Regions from separate parts of the Homo sapiens genome. Here region 1 is linked to region 2. The links are contacts of gene promoters, found by promoter capture Hi-C in blood cells and fetal thymus (Javierre and others, 2016). All regions are on one chromosome and are shown on one strand. Each heading gives the region's core, a stretch centred on a gene start or on the middle of the fragment in contact. The rest is flanking DNA. Distances are from core to core; before and after follow the strand shown. Region 1 holds the start of CDK7 (cyclin dependent kinase 7). Region 2 holds the start of OCLN (occludin).

Region 1 (4,395 bases), core at 551-3,050, 260 kb before region 2:
TAATGGCTAACATATAGTAAACACTTAACTGTCAAACATTATTCTAAGGGCTTTGCAGGTGTGAGGTCATTTAAGCCTTGGAACAATCCTTTGAGTAGATCCTATTAGGGATGAAGAAACTGGAAACAAAGTAAGTAATTTGCCCTAGTTGTATCTAGTGGCTGAATACTGATAGGGCCACTATTCAAATGCAAGCAGTCTGATTCCAGAGTTAAAAAAAATAACTAAATTATTGGCCTTGGTATTTTGCTACTTTCTTCAACATATCTCTGAAACTTAGGATTTTCAACTCTTAGAAATAACAAATATAGGCTGGGCGCAGTGGCTTACACTTACAAATACCAGCACTTTGGGAGGCCGAGGAGGGTGGATCACCTGAGGTCAGGAGATTGAGACCAGCCTGGCCAACAAGGTGAAACCCCGTCTCTACTAAAAATACAAAAATTAGCTGGGTGTGGTGGAGCAGGCCAGTAATCCCAGCTAATCGGGAAGCTGAGGCAGGAGAATCGCTTGAACCCAGGAGGCAGAGGTTGCAGTGAGCTCAGATCGGGCCAGCGTACTCCAGCCTGAGCAACAGAGTGAGACTGTCTCAAAAACAAACAAACAAACAAAGGCAGGGGGAGGGGGGCACATTTCCATGTTGACAGCTGCTCTGGCTCAGAAACTTTTAATTATCCACTAGTAGAGCCATCTGGATTACTGCAATAGTTCTCTAATAGGCCTTCTTTCTTTTTCTTGTCCCTCAAAATCTATAATATAGTCTCCCAACAGCAAGAGTGAACCTTTTAAAAGTGAGTCAGGTCATATCACTTGTCTGCTCCAATCCCTCCAGTGGGTTTTCAGTGATGACTTTCTTGTACCACCCTATTTAAAACCTCCATCCCTGCCCCTGCCCTGATTTGTTATCCTTTATCTGCTTTATTATCTCTATAGCACTTATCACCTATGTATCATAACACATATTTGACTTGTTTTTTTATCTCCTCCCATTGGAAGGCAGGGATCTTTGCTCCCTGCTATCTCAGATTCTACAATGGTGCTTGGCACATAGATAACACTCAATATCAGCATCCTAAGAGAGAGAAAAATGAAAAAGGAAAAGCACTCAATATGTTTTTGAATAAATGAATTAGTGTGTTTGTTATGACAATTTATGATAATCAAGGGGTTGGGTACTCATTACTGCTAAGTTAATTGAGCACTGTCTCAATTAATTGAGTTAATGTCTAAGCTTTCTGCATGTTTCATTTAATACCCACAATCTCCTGTGATGTAGTTCATTATTTTTTCCATTTTACCGAGTAGAAAACTGAGGACTAGAAGCTGATTCCCACAGCACGTTTCAGTTGAGTTGGATTTTGTTTTCCTGGGCCTGCTTCTTCATAAAGGGACTGGACTAAGAATACTCTTGACCAGCCCGTAAGAACTTGGCACTCGTCTCAGTAATCTGAGATAGCAGGGTTTGGCGTCCATAGCAACCACGGCGACAGGACGCGCTCGAGCAAGAACCAAAAAGCGAGAACAGGTACAAGGCCAAACTTTCTACATTCACAGACACCTACCAAACCCCGAACATGGAACACCAAATTAGAACGCTGACCAGTTCCTGGTAATGTAGAAAACACCCAAGTTAAAACGGCAACAGAGTGACACAGCAGCCATTGAAGATGCCCCACTTCAGGCACCGACAGGCGTCACGTGACGGGTGGGGAACGCCAACCGCCTGGGCCTAGCGCAGCTTCCTCCGCCCACCACGGAAGTGAGGCGGGGATACTAAAGCGACGGAGCCCGGTGGACGGAAGTGGGTGTTGGAGGCTTTAAGGTAGCTTTAAATTCGTGTTGTCCTGGGAGCTCGCCCTTTTCGGCTGGAGTCGGGCTTTACGGCGCCGGATGGCTCTGGACGTGAAGTCTCGGGCAAAGCGTTATGAGAAGCTGGACTTCCTTGGGGAGGGACAGGTGAGGCTCTCTGGAAGGACGGGGAGGGCCCCAAGCGGACAGCCCCGCGCCGCCTCCACCTTTGCGGGTTTTCCCGTGGAGGCCAGAGGTCTGGCTTGGCTGCTCGTTCTCGTTGGGGGAAACCGTCCAGACGCACTTGCTGCCCATTCTTTACATCCTGGGGGTGAATCCCTGAGGGGCCTCTCCTTGCTGAAGAGTAGCCTGGAGCTGGACGGAGACTGACCCGCCACGTTTCCAGCCGCCGCGAGTCTGCTCAGGAACTCTGGGCTCTTTGCTTCGCGAAATGTAAAAATGCAAAAAGGCAAACACAAAAACTCCCATAAACTTATGTTATTTCTATTTTTCTTTCTAGTTTGCCACCGTTTACAAGGCCAGAGATAAGAACACCAACCAAATTGTCGCCATTAAGAAAGTGAGTTACCTTTTTATGTTGTTTTTAAGTCTCCTTGAAGATGTCTGTATTATTAATTGACTGATAGCCATTTTATTAGTCTTGACCATACTCTGATAATGAGTTACTCATGTCATTTTCAGAGACAAAATAATTAATTAGTGCTTTGTGTTCCCAAACGGAACTCTAGGGTTGAACCCGTTTTAATTTCTATTGAAATGAAGAAGAAGCTGTATGTTATTTTTACTGCATAAATTCATATGTTGTGGGCAAGTACTGCCCATCTTTTCGGTCCTCAGAACTATTGGATACCATGATCTTTCTAGGTCACTGTTTATACCTCACCTGCATCCACTCAGTGTGTCGTATCTGTATTTTCTGTGTACGGATTTACCATGAAAGACTTTCACTAGCATGAACAACATTGATGTGAGGTCTAAAATGAGTTCAGTAGCTTCTTATATTCATTCAAAAGACCTGGGTCGGATTCAGTAGCTTCTTATATTCATTCAAAAGACTTGGGTCGGGCCAGCCGCGGTGGCTCACGCCTGTAATCCCAGCACTTTGGGAGGCCGAGGTGGGCGGATCACTTGGGGTCAAGAGATCCAGACCATCCTGGCCAACATGGTGAAACCCTGTCTCTACTAAAAATACAAATATTAGCTGGGTGTGGTGGCACCTGTCTGTAATCCCAGCTACTCGGGAGGCTGAGGCAGGAGAATCACTTGAACCTGGGAGGTGGAGGTTGTAATGAGCCGAGATGGTGCCACTGTGCTCCAGCCTGGTGACAGAGGGAGACTCCATCTTAAAAAAAAAAAAAAAAAGATTTGGGTCATAATTACATAACTCACGTTCACCTACATTGTTTCTTTTAACCTTCAAAACAATCTATAAAGTGGTTAAAAGTAACCCTATTTTATACTTGAGGTACCTGAGACTGAGTGACTAGGTGACTTGTCAAGATCACACAGCTAGTGATTGCTGAAGCTGGGATTTAAATCCAGGTGTCCTGATGTTGCTTTTGTTACCGTTGCTACTTTGAATCTGCTTCTCCTGCTTCAAAAACCCTAACTCCTTGGAAGTTATCCATATTTAACATTAATTCCCCCTTTTTTTGGTCATCTTCCAGCCTCCAAGTACTGTCTTGCATTCATTTAAAACCTGACTGACTACTTCTTCTCAATTATTCCTGCCATAATTTTTTTATTTTTTATTTTATTTTATTTTTTATTTTTTTTGAGACAGAATTTTGCTTGTTGCCCAGGCTGGAGTGCAATTGTGCGATTTCGGCTCACTGGAACCTCTGCCTCCCGGGTTCAAGCACTTCTCCTGTCTCAGCCTCTCCAGTAGCTGGGACTACAGGAACCTGCCACCACGCCCAGCTAATATTTGTATTTTTAGTAGAGACAGGGTTTCGCCATGTCGGCCAGGCTGGTCTCGAACTCCTGACCTCAGTTGATCCACCCACTTCGGCCTCCCAAAATGCTGGGATTACAGGTGTGAGCCACTGTGCCTGGCCTTCTTTTTTTTTTTTTTTTTTTTTTTTTAACTTTTTTACTTTTTTTATGTCCGTGTTTTCTGGTTTATGTTTTATGATCCACCACTACAGCCACTCCCTTTAAAACCCTTAACTCTACTGAATCTTTCTTCATCTTTCTTTCTTTTGTGGTGGCGGGGCAGGAGGAGGTCTCACTCTGTCGCCCAGGTGGAAGGGTTAGAGTGCAGTGGCACAGCCATAGCTCACTGCAGCCACCAACTCCTGGACTAAAGTAATCCTTCCACCCCAGCCTCCAAGGTAGCTGGGACTATAGACACATGCCACCAAGCCTGGCCTAGTCATCTTTTTAATTCTGTCTCTGGTTCACTATATCATAGCCACACTGACTTTTCTGTCCCTGTACAAATTAAATTTATTCCAGTCCCAGAATCACAGGATCATTGCATTTGGTCTGGCTTCTTGGTTGGTATATTTTCCGTCTAGAACATGGCATGGCTGATTCCTTATCATCCAGGCTTCACTCAAATGTCTCCTCCATAGAGGCCTTTGT
Region 2 (4,349 bases), core at 1,689-4,188:
GAAGCAGAAAAGTGTCCTGTGAGGACGTGCCTTTCCTATCAAAGTGCTGAGTGCCTGGACCCTCTTTCCGGAGGAAACAGTCCCCTCTGGACCTCGTTCGGCCTCTCTCCATCAGACACCCCAAGGTTCCATCCGAAGCAGGCGGAGCACCGAACGCACCCCGGGGTGGTCAGGGACCCCCATCCGTGCTGCCCCCTAGGAGCCCGCGCCTCTCCTCTGCGCCCCGCCTCTCGGGCCGCAACGTCGCGCGGTTCCTTTAACAGCGCGCTGGCAGGGTGTGGGAAGCAGGACCGCGTCCTCCCGCCCCCTCCCATCCGAGTTTCAGGTGAATTGGTCACCGAGGGAGGAGGCCGACACACCACACCTACACTCCCGCGTCCACCTCTCCCTCCCTGCTTCCTCTGGCGGAGGCGGCAGGAACCGAGAGCCAGGTCCAGAGCGCCGAGGAGCCGGTCTAGGACGCAGCAGGTGGGACTCGCGGCGCTGGCCCGCAGGCTTCCCGCACCCCCTTCCACGTTGGTGCGCATGCCCGGGGGCAGGGCCGGTTGTAGGGAGGAGGGAAAGGAGAGGGAGAAGGGGGAGGAGACGTCCCCAGCCCAGTCCCCGGCTGAGCGCTGGCGGTCGGTGCGGCGTCAGGTGCGCCCGCCAGGTGAGCGCGCTCCCTGGCACCGTTGGCCCCCGGAGGGTCGGGCCCAGTTGCGGCGAGCGGGTGAGTGTTGGGCGCGGCGTCAGGGGCGCACGGGAGCCCGAGGGTCCCCGTGGGGGGACCGCGGCGACTATGTTAGGGGAGGTGCCGGGGGGAGGACGCTCCGCGCTGGTTTCGGTGGCAGTTTCGTCCCCGAGCTGGGACTCGTGGGAACCAGAGAGGCGCGGGTCTGCGGAGAGAGCAGCACCGGCCAACTTGGGAGGCTGCCTCCTGGGGCGAGGGGTGGCTTGGAGCCGCCGATCAAGCTTTATTCCGCGGAAACGCTGAAAGCTAGCAGTGCCTCAGCGGCGCGGGCAACTTTTCACTTTTATGGGGCACGACATTCCTGAACAGCGACGATCCTGCATCCGCTCTGGGGCTGCAGTTTGGGGGGGCGGCCTTCATGGAGAGGGATCCTGCGCCCAGCTCCTTGGGGGTCCTAAGCCTGAGGCTGCAGCGAGGCGGCTGTTCGGCGGCCCGGGCGGCTTAGATCCCGGGGGGAATTTCATTCCTTCCGCTCCCACCCCACCCCTTTGGATATCCCGGGGAGACGGGGGCTGGATTCAATCTGTGAAATATTCCAGGAGTCACGGTGTGGGCCACACTGGCTACTTCGAATCCACTTGTTGCGAGTTGTGTGAACCCGCGTCGATTTAAGCTGGGGGGCGGGGAGTTAATTTCGAGTGAGGCTGGACTTCGAGGGAAGCTGCTCACGCTTCGGATTCTCATCCGTGACCAAAAGGGCTGCCCCCAGGGGGGCGGAACTGCCTCCGGGCGGTGCCTGCCCGGCGAACGTGGGCGCGCGCTGCCTGGGAGCGCCTCGGTGCGCACGGAAGCCGGGACCCGCGCCCAGCCGGGCCACGGAGTTTGGGGACCTCCGGGACTGGGCCGGCCCCGCGCGCCAGCCATGTTGCCTGCGTCGGAGGAAGCGTGCGGGGAGCAGGGGTCGAGGGCCAAGATGGCCTCTGCGCCTAGGGGTTGGGAGCGGCGCCGAGCCCCTCGCGCTCCTCGGGAAGCCACCGGGCCCGAGGGAAAAGCCGCGGCATCCTTAGGCCGGACCCGGGGCTCGCTGGCCACACTGCCCGCTTGGGGAATTACCCTGCTCGAGGAGGAGGCGGCGGCTTTCCAGGCCAGTCAGTGTGTGGCCCTTAGGCAACAGGTGTATTATTGGGATACCTGGAAAAGAGAAACGTTTCCCATGAAGGCACTTATGGTGTTTTTTGGTGATTCTTGGTGTGATAGAAAACTAGGCGTTCCCAAGTGTAACAATAGTAACAGTAGTTCTTTTGCACTGTACATATGAGGTGCTTGTGTGTGTGTGTGTGTGTGTTTTTCCGAGACGGAGTCTGGCTCTGTCCCCCAGTGCAGTGGCATCATCTGGGCTCACTGCAACCTCTGCCTCCCGGGTTCAAGCGATTCTCCTGCTCAGCCTCCCGAATAGCTGGGATTACAGGCACCCACTAGTATGCACAGCTAATTTTTGTATTTTTAGTAGAGACAGGGTTTTGCCATTTGGTCAGGCTGGTCTCGAACTCCTGACCTCAGGTGATTCGCCCGCCTTGGCCTCCCAAAGTGCTGGGATTACAGGCGTAAGCCACCACACCCAGCCTTTATGAATATTTTCTTAGTGGTGCTTTAAAATAGACATCTTAAGTGTGTGTGGGAGGCAGAGATATTTCCTCAAACAAAGCAACACTTTTTTTTTGGTCGTTTTGCAATTTATTTAGTTATTAGGGGCCTCCTTTGTTAGGTGACGGAGCAGAGGATAGGGAGATCGGTAAGACATGATTCTCCACCTTTTGGCAGTTTCCAGGCCATTTCGGGAAATAGTGGGCAGCAGTGCCTCCTGCACGTGAGGCACTGTGGTAAAAGCATTCTGTATTTTCTCATTTAATTATCCCAACAACTCTAAAAGGCAGGCCTTAGTAGAACTCCATTTTAAAAGTGGGCAAATGCCGTGGGGGAAACGTTGCAGGTGGGCTTGCTTGCAAACTGCTTCAGCTAATATGGGAAGGAGTATCAGAAGCAGCGGTCCTTGATATTCCAGAACCAGATTTGGGGAATTTTTCTGGACTTTTCTACCATTGACTAGTAACTGTAGCCTGATACAAGATTTCCCGCATTTTGCTTGATATCAAGGTAAAATTCTTGTTTTCTTCTAAAGGTAGTGTTGGAATTACTACCTTTTCAAAATAGTATATTACTTTTAACCACATAAATGATCTGATGTAATATCTTTCATCTTCCTAGGAACCTCCCAGAAGGAAGTTTTCTTCAGTTGCATTTTAAGGCTTATTTGATTGGAATATTAATGGATCTTTTTCATCAAATTACTATTTATGGAAATAAGAGAGTAAACAGACCATGCAGATTTATGTTAGGCTTTTTGTTTTAACCCCTAGGCTTGCCGCTGTTCCGTAACCCAGTGATTCCAGTCTTGGCTGTGGTATGAATCACTTAGGGATCCTATTAAAACACAGATTCTGATTGGGAGGTCAGGAGTGGGGCCTGGGATTCTGCCTTTCTAACAGGCTCACAGGTGATTCTCAGACTGTTCTGTCTTCTTTTTCTCCCTTTCTCTTAGACTCTACGCACTTAATTACATTTGACAAACTGAAGTTGGAAAAAATAACGTTTATTGAGTGTTGTGTGAAGAACTTCAAGGCATTCACTGCTGGATTGAAATCCCAACTCTAATAATTGACTGTTGGTTTTATTAATTGAGTACTCATTGACAATCACTTTGTGCCAGGGCTAGTTCCAGCGACCAGGGATATAAATGATGGTCAAAATAGACATTTGATGTCTGGGATATGGGCATTCCAGATGCGGTGGAGATGATACCTATATTTTAGGTATGAGGGCAGAGGGGAGTTTGCTCTGAAAAAAAAAACAAGTTTTGTGTGATGGAGTGAGGGACAGGGAGGGCATCTCCCAGAAGGTGACGTCTGAGCTGAGACCTGAACAGCAGGTGTCTGTTGTGTAAAAGATCTGGGCTTTCTAGACAGGAAATTGCAAGATCAATGTCCTTTTTGGATTGACACCTTTATTGTAGACAGCAATTCTCAAAATATGTGATGTGTTTAAAAATCACCTGGAAGATTTATTAAAAATACAATTTCTGACACAGAGTCTATTACAAAATCTGCCTAACTTCAAATTTTTAGACAATTTACTAATGATGTGCCTGTAGTCTAAATCATTTAATATAAGGCACAACTTAAACTTTTTTTTTTTTTTTTGAGACAGAGTCTCGCTGTCTCCCAGGCTGGAGTGCAGTGGCACGATCTTGGCTTACTGCAAGCTCCGCCTCCCGGGTTCACACCATTCTCCTGCCTCGGCCTCCCGAGTAGTTGGGACTACAGGCGCCTGCCACCATGCCCAGCTAATTTTTTGTATTTTTAATAGAGGCGGGGTTTCACTGTGTTAGCGGGGATGGTCTCGATCTCCTGACCTCGTGATCCTCCCGTCTCGGCCCCCCAAAGTGCTGGGATTACAGGCGTGAGCCACCGCGCCCGGCCACAACTTAAACTTTTTAAAGGCAAATTGACAGTTACTGCATGTGCTCTAAAAGGAACAGACTTCTCTTAAATACAATAAAGTTTATTTTTCACTTATTGACAGTTTTCTTTAAAGAATAATTTGAGGCCAAAGCATTTTCAGA

What was found. The method cuts DNA at HindIII sites, captures the fragments that hold promoters and counts their contacts. A CHiCAGO score of 5 or more calls a contact.
Region 1: the fragment with the promoter of CDK7 here is called in contact with a fragment that was not itself captured in region 2 in 2 of 17 cell types (neutrophils and erythroblasts); the score reaches 7.0 in neutrophils.

The regions. Positions count from the first base shown.
Region 1 is chr5:69,233,086-69,237,480 of GRCh38, forward strand. CDK7 (cyclin dependent kinase 7) reads left to right here and starts at 1,801. Exons shown (of 12, transcript NM_001799.4): 1 at 1,801-1,956; 2 at 2,309-2,368. The coding sequence starts at 1,891. RefSeq lists enhancers at 1,523-2,051, 3,763-4,263. The HindIII fragment of the contact is 18,686 bases long and covers 1,230-4,395 here.
Region 2 is chr5:69,492,192-69,496,540 of GRCh38, forward strand. It overlaps OCLN (occludin), which reads left to right and starts at 599. Exons shown (of 9, transcript NM_001205254.2): 1 at 599-709. The HindIII fragment of the contact is 3,979 bases long and covers 950-4,349 here.